Linked DNA regions of Homo sapiens: region 1 is linked to region 2. The links are contacts of gene promoters, found by promoter capture Hi-C in blood cells and fetal thymus (Javierre and others, 2016). All regions are on one chromosome and are shown on one strand. Each heading gives the region's core, a stretch centred on a gene start or on the middle of the fragment in contact. The rest is flanking DNA. Distances are from core to core; before and after follow the strand shown.

Region 1 (6,393 bases), core at 774-3,273, 4.1 Mb before region 2:
CACAAAATGAGGATACTAAAAGAACCTACCTCCTAGGGTTGCTGTGAAGATTAGGTAAGAAACTCCATGCCAAGAACCAGCAAAACACCCAGCACTCAATGTTAACTATTATCCTGGGATGTCTCATCTATCTAGAATGGGAGTAACCTGCTCCCCAGTGGGAGCAGATTACTAAGGTTTCCTTTCATATATTTTAGAATGATTAGCAATAAGAGTTAAAGACAACCCTCTGGTTAATCTTGAACAGACAAAAATTTCAATTAACCAATATATTGCTGTCATAAAAATGTTAGTTTAACTAAAACTTACCATAATTTATTAAAAAACAAGTACACATTTGTATTAAAGTTAGGTTATTTTGTTTTCCTATTTAAGTTCAGAAAAAAGAATGAAAACATAATAATGTAGTTTTCTATAATATAAAATACACATAAATGAAATTTTATCTCAGTTGTATATTAACTTTCCAAATATATATACATAACAAAATGAATTCTAGAAGCTTAAGAAAATAAAAGTATGCATCAAACAGGTACATGGCATTCATTCTCAAAAAACACAATCAAAGGACAAAAATCACTGACTTTTTTCTTTTATCTTTTTTCTTTAAAATAGAGATGGGGGTCTCACTATGTTAACAGCCCAGGCTGGTCTTGAACTCCTAGGCTCAAGCGATTCTCCCGCCTCACCCTCCCAAAGTGCTGAGATTACAGGTGTGATCCACCACACCCAGCCACACTGATTTTTTAAAAAAATATATAATATAGGGATTACCCCATCTCTATTAAAAATACAAAAATTAGGCAGGCGTGGTGGCGCGTGCCTGTAGTCCCAGCTACTGGGGAGGCTGAGGCAAGAGAATCGCTTGAACCCAGGAGGCAGAGGTTGCAGTGAGCCGAGATGGCACCGCTGCACTCCAGCCTGGCAACAGAGCAAGACTCTGTCTCAAAAAAAAAAAAAAAAAAAAATATATATATATATATATATATATAAAAAAATAAATTTAATAATATAAAATCTATAAAGCCTACAATAAGAAAAAATAGATCAGAAATGTTTTTCAAGAGATTAATATATTTATGATGTTAGTGCTAATGAAAATTGGTGAGAAGATTCCAATAAATTTATGGACGATGGACAAATAAAGGAGAAAATAAAACTAGAAGAATACTGCATTTGCTTGTCTATTATGGACTATGATGTTAAACTGCAAGGAACCTTATCCTCATTTTTAAAAAACAAACTTTTAAAAGCAAAAACCTATAAAGTATGATAGAAATGGTCAACCAAACTCTACTGGAGTCTGTAAATCAATATCTTTTAGAAGTAAATCTAGTAATATTTTTCAGAATTAACAAAACCTTCATACCCTCTGACTTTGTAATACTGCTCCTGGGCCTTTAGCCCAAAGGGAAGAAGCAAAATGATAAACAGCTATATACTAACGGCATTATCTGCAAAATAGTAAACAATCTAGATGTCCAATTATTAAGAAATGACATTGTAACACTGTATAATCATCTAAAGGTATAAAAACTATAGCAAAAATAAAACATCAAATATGAAAGCAAATATTAAGCATTATGTGTATGCTTTATCATATAAAACCACTGATATGACAAGAAATAAGAAGAAAAATTAAGTTTGTTTTGATTTTTAAAATTTCTTTGACCATTGTTTGTAAGATAAAAAGCCTTTTGGAATTGGTCAGGCCCACACCACTAAGTACACATTTCAACTTTTTAGAGACAGCCACAATCATCAATTTTTTCCCCCAAAATCCTATCACATAGGAGTAAGATAGGCTCCTCTCACAGACAAGCCACACAAGTAATTTTAGCCATGCTATTAGCCAGCTGCAACCTTCTTATATTAAAATCTCATTGTACCATCAAAACTTAACTGTATGTGAGATGTCCATATGGTGATCAGAAGCCACTTGTTATGGGGCATCTGGAGAGAGCGCCCCAAGCACTGAAGTTAAAACTATCTGGCTGAGAGGAATAGTGAAGGTTAGGTTTCTCCCATATCCCCAAATGAATTATCATGTTTCTCAGCCACAAGGGTTCTAAGTCCCTAGGAGTGGCAGCCATGTATTCAAAGAGGGAGAAAGTGCAAGCAGATTTGCACTCCCTCTGAAAAACTGGCAGCTCCTTCATTTCACCCCAAAGCACCATGGAGTAGTGAAAAACACACAATGATGAGGTCAGGAGATATGAGATGTAGGTGAGCCTAAGCAATCTCAAACAAGTTGTCTTTTTAGGCTGAGTTGTTTAACCGTAAAATTTTTAAAGTTGAACCAAATAATCTGTTAATTCTTTCAAGTTCAATATTCTATTGACCCTTTTTTCAGAACACATCCAAGTCGCTCACAACTCCCATTCAAATTGTAAAACAATTAAGATTTAGAATTAGGAGACTGGGGGCAAAAGTGAAATACACAGATGGTCAAAAGACCTGGACTGTAATCCCCGCCATCCCTTTCTACCTGCGTGACTTTGCGCCTCAAAATAAAGTTGTAGGACCAATGAAGCAGCAATCTTTATTGGTCATGCCCTTTTTATTCCTGTATCATAAAATGGATTTTTTTTAACATAACTGGGGTTTCATTCCTAACCAGCCTACAATCCCAGCACTTTGGGAGGCCGAGGTGGGCGGATCACGAGGTCAGGAGTTTGAGACCAGTCTGGCCAACATACTGAAACCCGTCTCTACTAAAAAAAAATTAGCCAGGTGTGGTGGTGTGTGCCTATAATTCCAGCTACTCAGGAGGCTGAGGCAAGAGAATCGCATGAACCCAGGAAGCAGAAGTTGCAGTGAGCCGAGATGAGGCCATTGCACTCCAGCCCAGGCCACAGTGCAAGACTCTGTCTCAAAAAACACAAAAGAAACCCCAAAACCTGGTGGAGACAGACACATAAACAAATCATTAACTACCAGTTGACAAATACTAACTGGAGAGTGTACGAATCAGTTAAGACAAGAGGGATGAAATGTCTAGACAAGCCTCAGAAGTGCTACTTTCGTAAGGTCTTCAAGGGCAAGTTGTTTACTAGGTAGAGAATTCTCAACAAAGAACACTGAAAAACCACAGAGGAAGATGTCATCTTCAGAGAACTGCAACAGTCTTATATAGAGAGGGCAGGCATAATGGTAGAAGATGACACTAGAATGGAGACAAATACCGCTAATCATGAAGGACTTTGAATTTTATCGATATAGACTATGGAGAGTCACTGAAGGACTTGTAAATATGGATTCAAAGTCCCTTCCTCCAAAATAGTCAAAGGAGTTGAGTCAAAGCAACAAAAAATGCAGGTCTGAATGTGGAAAGGTAGAATTTTTACAGAATTCTTAATAGAGACTTTCGGCTTGCTTTCAGGATGGCTTCTAGTGCTTTCTTAACTATGGCTTATGCTGAAGTACGACAGTATGAATTATGGCTAAAGGGTTCAACAAAGTGTGCATTTTTAACCTGAAGATTATTTGAAGCCAATGTTGTTTAGAACACAAACGAAAACAAAAAATAACAGTAACAAGCTTTCATAAATTAAGAGAAACAGTAATAAAGTCCAAGAGGAAGAAGACTGATTTCAGGCAAACACTCAGGAATATTTACATTTTTATCACATATGGATGACGGATAAGACATGTTTTGAACCCATCTTTTGCAGGAGAGCATCTTAAGTTCCTTTTGGTTAAAGAGCAGCTGCCATCTCTAAAGTCTCTAGTCTAAAAGATGATGCTTTAAAAAAAACAACTGGCCAAATGAATAGGTTCCGTCATATTTTAATGCTCAGGAGAAAAGGAATGCTTTTCATATGGCTATTTTAAAAAGCTTAAAGCTCAATTTCTCTCTTACAGGAGTGAGCTACCAACACTCTAATCTGAGACCAGAGTCCCTGCGTCAGTCATTTCCACTCCGCTAAGGCCTTGTCTGGGAGCAGCCAGCCTCATTGGTCGGGGAGCCCACACAGATGAATATGCAATTACTGAAATGGAAACAAGCTTCGCCACCAAGGACCACCACAAAGGAGTCCCTTCATTCCTCCTTTTACTTTATCAAGAAAGTAGGTGCATTATTTAAAAATGTATGAAAATACATGTCTAAAGACAAGAGAGAAGATCTGAACCTACGGCAACGGTGTGCCCCACCAAAGTTTCACCTCAGGATGTGTTTTAGGGTGTGTCTTTCATTTAGCCCAGTAATTGAAAGAAAAAAAAAATCGAACTCATTCGGGGAGCCCCGGTACTTTCCCTATCCACCCTCACACGCAACCAGGCTCCGAAATCAGAGTGCCTCAGCCTCGCCCTGATTTCTCCTGAAAGGCGGCGGCGCCCGCGGCCCGAGGCCCCGCGCTGTCACAGCCGCAGGGAGGGCGCCCTCCGGCCTCCCGGGTCCGCGCCCGCCCCGCGTCCGGCGGCTCGCGAGGGGCTAGAGAGGCTCACCCTGGAGGCCGGGTACGGGAGGGCGACACCGCCTCAGCCCGGGAGTTCGGGCCTCCGCCCCGCCCCGGACTGCGTGCCTGGTCTTGGGCTGCCCCCGGCGCCCGCCGCGACCCCGGCCCCGGCTCTGGCCCTGAGCCCGGATCTCACCGTGCGGAGGTCGCGCTGCCTCCTCGGCCGCGGCCCAGCTGCAGGCCGCCCTGCGACCTGCGGGCCCGAGGACGGAAGGTGAGACGAAGGGCCGCCCGTCACATCCCCGCCAGCCCCGCCGCCCGAGCCGCAGCAACCAGCATCGCGTCCGCGGCCTGAGGGAGCGCCGGACTCCAAAGCCGCCGCGCCCCCTCCCTCGGCCGGCGCCCGCCCGGACTCCGCCCTCCAGGGCCGGCGCACCGCGCACGCGCAGTCCCGCCCCGCCGCGGGCCCGTGCGCAGGCGCGAGCCTCACGGGGCTACGGGGACCGCCCCCACCGCCTGATCCGGCCTCAGCCCACCTCTGGCCCCGCCCCGCCCTCACGCCAGGCTTTCCCAAGCTCCGCCTCCGCTTCGGGCCCCGCCCCCTCCACTGACCTTGCCTGGCCGCCTCCTGACTCAGGTTTTTGCTGGGCCCACGCAGTGACGCCAGTCTTGCGGCTGACCTCACCTCTAGCCGTCCCCTGGACTACATTTGCTGCTTGAGTGCGGTCAAACCTGACAGCTCCTCCTCCTGGATGTGAAAAGTGAGGAGTGGTCTGAGCATTGGGCATGACTGAACCACGCACCTGCCTACCGCATCAAAACACAGGATCTTGCTAAAGCTGAGGGGAAGGGGCACCCCAAGTGCTGATCTGGTTTTCCCTTTTTTTTTTTTTTTTTGAAACAGAGTCTCGCCCTGTCACCCAGGTTGGAGTTCGGTGGCGCTATCACAGCTCACTTGCAGCCTCCTGGGCTTAAGCGATCCTCTCGCCTCAGGCGTGTATCACCAAGCCTCCGAAATAATTACAACTAAGACCACACTAGTCAAAGTAAACTATCACAAGTTGACCCAAATACCCGGCTAATTTTTATTTTTTCTTTTTAGAGTTGGGGGAAGTGGTCTTACAGGCTAGTCTCAAACTCCTGGGCTCAAGCAATCCTCCCACCTTGGCCTCCCAAAGTGTTGGGATTACAGGCGTGAGCCACAGCTCCTGGCCAATGTGGTTTCTTTGCCAGAAACCAGGTCTTTCTTCCCTTTGGGGCTTCCATCCCCCAGAGGCCATCTCTTCCCCTCTTGTTTTTCCTCGACGCGGCCAGTCCTGCTGCTGAGAGTCCTCAGCCTGGAAGGCTTCCGGGCCTGGCCGGCTGTTTAAAGCTCTGGAGTTGCCCTTACCTGGTTGTAGACTTGCAGTTCTCTGAAATCCTCGTCGGCCCCAACAGCTCGGTTGTAATAACATTTCAGGAGAACTGCTTGAAAAATATCCAGTTCTTTCCTGTCTCCAGATCAATGATACTCAAATGGAAAAAGCAGACGGAATGCCTGATTTGTATAACCACACTTCATTTAATAATACACTTTCATATTTAGAAAATAATGTCTTTTAAATATCAATCCCTAAGATATTTAATGTATTGGACAATAATGTGTGCTTAAAATATTGACAAAGACTAGGTCTAAATGCTGTGCAATCTCTCTTTGGATTAAGTGAGATTAGAAAAGCAAACACCAGGCCGGAGGCGATGGCTCAAGCCTGTAACCCCAGCACTTTGGGAGGCCAAGGTGGGAGGATCACAAGGTCAGGAGTTCAAGACCAGGCTGGCCAATATGGTGAAATCCCGTCTCTACTAAAAATACCAACAAATTAGCCGGGCGTGGTGGCGCATTCCTGTAATCCCAGCTACTTAGGAGGCTGACGCAGGAGAATTGCTTGAACCTGGGAGGTGGAGGTTGCGGTGAGATGAGATCATGCCACTGCACTCCAGCCTGGGCGGCAGA
Region 2 (5,774 bases), core at 2,562-5,061:
ACTACAATAAAAGTGGGAAATGTTAAACCTACTCTTTCAGAAATCAATGGATTGAACAGGAGAGAAAAAAAAAAAAAACCCAGGAGATAAAAGATCTAAATAACCTGATTAGCAAGCTAGATGGAGAGATATAGAGAAAAAAAAACCACATAAAAAGTGAAGAGACGTTCACAAAAATTGGGACAGCCAAAAAAAGTCTGTATATGAGGCCACAAAGGAGGCATTAACAAATTCTAAAAGAACACATTTCCTCATCTCCAAGCATTAAAGTTAGAGATCAATGACAAAATGATTGATTTATTTTTATTTAAATTTTTTTTTGTAGAGGGGCTCTCACTGTGTTGCCCAGGCTGGTCTTAAACTCCTGATCTCAAGCGATCTTCCCACCTTGGCCTCCCAGAGTGCTGGGATTACATGCCTGAGCCACTGGGCCCCTCCCCAAATGATTATTATTATTTTTTAAAAAACTGAAGTTTGAAAACAAAAAAAGAATGGAAAATATACGTCTAAATAATCCATGAATTAAGCATACAATCCTAACATAAAAAACAAAATATTGGCCAGGCACAGTGGCTGACGCCTGTAATCCCGACACTTTGGGAGGCTGAGGCCGGTGGATCACTTGAGGTCAGGAGTTGGAGACCAGCCTGGCCAAAATGGTAAAACCCCATCTCTACTAAAAATTAAAAAATTAGCCGGGTGTGGTGGCGTGCACCTGTAATCCCAGCTACTCAGGAGGTTGAGGCAGGAAAATCTCTTGAACCCGGGAAGTGGAGGTTGCAGTGAGCTGAGATCTTGCCACTGCAGTCCAGCCTGGACGACAGAGCGAGACTCTGTAACAACAACAACAACAAAATCCAAATATGTATAACTAAGTGATAACAAAAGCATAGCATATTAAAACTTGTGATATTCAGCTAAAGCAGACTTTTGAGGGAAATGATAGTCATATATACTTATTAGAAAACAACAAAAGAGGCCGGGTGCGGTAACTCACACCCGTAATCCCAACACTGGCCCTAAAATTAAAATTTTTAAAAAGGAAGCTTATATACCATACTACTCAGAGCTATATAGCACGTCACCATTTTTTACAGTGCACTCACCTTCCCTTACCTTGTATGATGTTTCTATGAGCCCTGGGAAACAATGAAGCAGGGGTGATTTTATGGATTTTTATAGGTCACGTTGAAGATTTTATAGGTGAGAAAGCCGAGGCTCGGAGGATGCATGACTTGCAAGTGTCAGAATCAGAACTAGAATAGATCCCACACATTTGAACACCGAGTTTGGTGTCTTTTCCTTCACACCGCGTTCTCTGGGGGTGCCTGGGCGGTGACCCCTGCCATTGGCCTTGAGGATTAGGGCCTCAGCTCGGGTCCTCTGCAGAGCCTCCTCAGTCCCTAGCAACTTGCTGGCACCTAGCCGGGGCTAAACGCAGGTTTGTTGAAAATTATAAAAGGGTAAGCCCAGGGGTAGCTATTCACCATTCTGGGTTTGAAGAGCTCTGATGCAGAAAGGTGTATACATCCAGCAGGAATTCCACCCTACATGATTTATTATAAACGTGGTATTCTAGGAGCATTCGCTCAGCCACGGAGAAAAATGGGCCTTTCGAAGAAGCTGGCCTTCGCGGTCGCTGTGGGGCGGCAGAGCAGGCGCAGGCGTCCAGGCAGTGGGGGCTGGGTAGGCGCCAGGAGACCTTCCCGGACCAATCCCCGGGCCCAGAGAGAGCGCCTGGAGACCTTACCTCCCCAGGAAATTCACACAGATTTCTTGGGGGCTTCACACCCGCGCCCCCAGTCCCGCCATCTCCTACGCCGCAGCAGGCGCCCCCACCAGGGTAATAACCCACTCTGAGAGTCTCTGGTGGTGCCTCTGATCCTCTGCTCTTCTGTTCCAGGCAGCGTTTTCTCCGAGCGGCTCTGGAGACTTTGGCCTGAGTTTCACCCTCACTCGCCGACTCATGTCCAAAAAATGCAGTCCAGCCCCGAAAGAGAGCCGCGCCTGCTGGTGGGGGTAGGGGGTGTTGGAGCGGCCACGGAATATGACTGAGCGCCCGGGGCCCGTTGTGAGGCCGGGGCCAGGCTGTCCCAAGGCACCGTTCCTGCCCGGCACCAGCACACCTGCCCAGACAGGGAGAAGGTCGGAGCCTCCCCTCCAGTCCTTCCGGATTTTATTGTTCAGAGCGACTTTAAAACGCAAATCGGGCCGGGCGCGGTGGCTCACGCCTGTAATCCCAGCACTTTGGGAGGCCGAGGCGGGCGGATCATTTGAGCCTAGGAGTTCGAGAACAGCTTGGCCAACATAGTGAAACCCCGTCTCTACTAAAAATGAAAATTAGCCGGGCGTGGTGGTGGGCATCTGTAGATCCAGCAACTCAGGAGGCCGAGGCAGGAGAATCGCTTGAACCCGGGAGGCGGAAGTTGCAGTGAGCCGAGATCGCGCCACTGCACTCCAGCCTGGGCGACAGATCGAGACTCCGTCTCAGAAAAAAAAAAAAAAAAAGGAAAATCGAACCAGCAGCTTGTTTGTAACAGCCAAACATAGGCAACAACCTAAATGTCCTTCAGTAAGGAGCTAGGTAATGAAGAATGGTGAAGCGCACGATGGCGCGCAGTGTGCAGTGGATGGGAAGAACCAGGTCTGTTCAGGAGCACTTGTATGGAAAGACCCTCCAAGATATAGTGAGTAAAAAAACATGTTGCAGAAAAGTACTGCAATATCGTTTTGTAAACAATACGTTTATGTAAACACACACACACAGTGTTAAAGAGAGATATTTGGAAGGACACACCTAAGAGTGGGCTGGGGGAGTGGAGGGAAGAGTGAATCTCAATTTTTACTCATTTTTTGAATTTTTTATTTTTAGTTTTTTAGAGACTGGGTCTCACTATGTTGCCCAGGCTAGTCTGGAAGCCCTGTCTTCAAGCCATCCTCCTGTCTTGGCCTTCCAAAGTGCTGAGATTACAGGCGTCAGCCACCACTCATTAAAAAAAAAAATTGTATACCTACCATATATGCATATATTACCTGGGTGACCTTTTAAAAATATGCTTTATTTTTAGAACATCTTTAGATTTACAGAAAAAGTGTGAATACAGGGAATTCTCATAAACCCGGGCTTTTCCTATTATTAACATCTTAAGTCATTTTTATATCTCCGTGGGTTCCTCTTGGCTGTGACAGTGTCCTAGACTTTCCTTGTTTTTGATGACCTTGCTAGTTTTCAGGAGTACTGGTCATGTATATGGCAAGGGCCTCAATTGATTTGTGATGTTTTCCTCATGATTACAGTGGGGTTAGGTGTTCTTGGGAGGAAGACCACAAGCGGTGCATGCAATCAGTATGATTTACCCCTGTCGAGGTCACCTTGACGGCTGGGTGGTTTGTCAGGTTTCTCCACGATAGTCACTGACCGCTCCCTTCCTCACATACTGTGCGTGACCTTCCCCCCTCCACCACCACCGAGTGTTGCTATAAAGGAAATGCGTTTGACCTTTTCAGTGTAAAAAGTTTTCTCGACCTTAAAGAGAGTCACTAACCGACGCACACGGGGCTGGAGAGGACTTAGGAAATGCCCACCCCTGCAGGAGGGCGAATGCGGCTCTGCGCGGCACTGGGCGCCGCAGGGGTTAGGGGCGGCAGAGGGACCTCCGGAGCCCGAGACTTCCTGGAGCAGCTCCGCAGCCGGAAGGCTGCTGCTCCTCGCGGGCCCGCCGTGCCCAGTCCTCATCTTGGGGGCGGGGCCGCGCTCAGGCCCCGCCCCTCCCTTGCACTGCCTCTGGCACCTGGGGCAGCCGCGCCCGCGGAGTTTTCCGCCCGGCGCTGACGGCTGCTGCGCCCGCGGCTCCCCAGTGCCCCGAGTGCCCCGCGGGCCCCGCGAGCGGGAGTGGGACCCAGCCCCTAGGCAGAACCCAGGCGCCGCGCCCGGGACGCCCGCGGAGAGAGCCACTCCCGCCCACGTCCCATTTCGCCCCTCGCGTCCGGAGTCCCCGTGGCCAGGTGAGTGAGGGTCCCGAGCCGGCTGGGGGCCTGGGACCAGGCGGCGGCAGTGCACCGCGGCGCCGCGGGTGAGGCCCGGGGCTGCCTGGCGCCCAGCCCAGCGCGGCCCTGCGGCTTCCTGGTTGCACTACAGGCGTGGGGGTGGGGGGCAGGGGAGGGCGTCGGCGGGTCGCGGGCGGGCCGTGTCGGCCTGGCAGCCCCCTAGATCAGCCTCGGCGTCTGGGGCTGCTCCCTCATGTGTGGTCGGGGTGCACTCGCCGTCCCCCCGGGCTCAGGGGTCGGGGTCTCAGTCTGGGCCTGGGTAGGGCCAGGGGCCGTGACCCTGGGCGCAGGAGGCAACGGGTGGCGGGAGGGGTGCCGGAGGCCCGGCCCCGCAGCCCTGCGGAGCCCTCCAGGGTGCGCGCGCCCTTCTAGGCGAGGCTTGGGGAGATTAAGCAGAGAAGGCTATCTTCAGGAACTTTCCTCCGAAACTGGGAGCACGCACATTCCTGGGAGCTGCTACCATTGCAGTTTATTTGTAAGGAACTCTCCCCAGTGTTTGAGGGAATGCGGGAGCCATCCCAGGTGCTGTGCGTGCCTTCGCCCCTTCCCCAACCTTGATCCCCAGTTTCAGGAAGGGATTCCTGGACTTGTATCTCCCATGGGTGCAGGCCAGGCCCTTAAGACTTAGGTAAAATGGTCTGTTGGTTTAAAGGAGACACGCGAAGTTTGTTACCTAGAGACTTTGGAGGGGAAAAGTTAAGCCAGCCAGTGCTAGCCCAAGCTGGAAACAGTCAGCCCGGGGCATTTCTGTCTCTGCCCTCCAATCCTTGACCTCTCTGTAGAGATTCGGCGTTTGTGGTAGCTCTCCCCTCTGTTCTCTGCGCTGGGCATGGAGTGGAGCTGTGAGGCCGAGCCCCTGCCCTGCCCTGCCCTGCCCTGCCCACGCAACAGGGACTAGGTTTGCAGGGCAGGGCCTGGTATGCTCACCCTTCACTGGCTCTCATTGCTTTCCTCATTCCTTTTATGCGGCAGTCAATTGTTGGGGATTCCAGGGGATTAACAGGGCCCCTTTCCTCAAGGCATTCTTTGTGCTGCAAGGTGTTCCCTGATAAGAGAGGCCAGGTGAGGTGCCAGGGCAGTTTGTTGCCCTGGCATTGGGTGCCCACTACTTCAGGCTCCTGCATACCTTGCTATCTTTTCTTTGACTATTGTCTGTGCTTTGGTTTTTCATCTGTAAAATGGGGGTAATAGTAATCCCTGCCTCACAGGCTTGTGAGATTCAGTGCATTCATTTATTTAATAACAATACAGAGCTCAGGTACGGACCAGTCAGAACAGGTGGTGACTGCTGCACCACACTTGTGTATCCCAGATGGGTGTCACCCACATTAGCCATAAAGTGTGTGAGGCAGGCCTGGGTCATAAATAATCAGGTGTAAGGGTCAATAAATAGTAGCAGTGGAAGGTTCAGCTAAAGTTGAAATGCACTTCTCCTGAACCGTCTTTCTGGCTTAGCTCATGCTAAGCTCATGCTCTCTGTCTTACTGGAATGCCCTCCCTCCCCTGTCTGGCCTAGCATTCTCCACCCTCCTGGGAGCCATCCGGGTGCCTGCTCCCAGCAGGAGGGACGGGATATGCTCTGAGCTCACTCAGCCCTTCTGGCACTGACTCGGTTCTCATCTCTCGCCTTGCATAGTATTTGTGTGGCGGTGTGGCTTATCGCTGCCCTGTCCTCTGACTCTGGAGGGTGGGGGCTGTTTCTGACTTACCTCTTGGTGGCAGCACTC

What was found. The method cuts DNA at HindIII sites, captures the fragments that hold promoters and counts their contacts. A CHiCAGO score of 5 or more calls a contact.
Region 1: a contact is called between a fragment that was not itself captured here and the fragment with the promoter of ANXA11 in region 2, in 2 of 17 cell types (non-activated CD4 T cells and total CD8 T cells). The highest score is 7.1, in non-activated CD4 T cells.

The regions. Positions count from the first base shown.
Region 1 is chr10:84,327,012-84,333,404 of GRCh38, reverse strand. CCSER2 (coiled-coil serine rich protein 2) reads right to left here and starts at 4,816. Exons shown (of 10, transcript NM_001284240.2): 1 at 4,597-4,816. RefSeq lists enhancers at 2,796-2,875, 3,923-4,272 and a silencer at 4,323-5,052. The HindIII fragment of the contact is 3,038 bases long and covers 505-3,542 here.
Region 2 is chr10:80,203,574-80,209,347 of GRCh38, reverse strand. ANXA11 (annexin A11) reads left to right here and starts at 3,811. Exons shown (of 16, transcript NM_145868.2): 1 at 3,811-4,005. LINC00857 (long intergenic non-protein coding RNA 857) reads right to left here and starts at 1,638. Exons shown (of 2, transcript NR_038464.1): 1 at 1,117-1,638. RefSeq lists enhancers at 1,530-2,171, 1,202-2,401, 2,172-2,813, 5,453-5,532 and a silencer at 3,588-4,467. The HindIII fragment of the contact is 13,979 bases long and covers 1,049-5,774 here.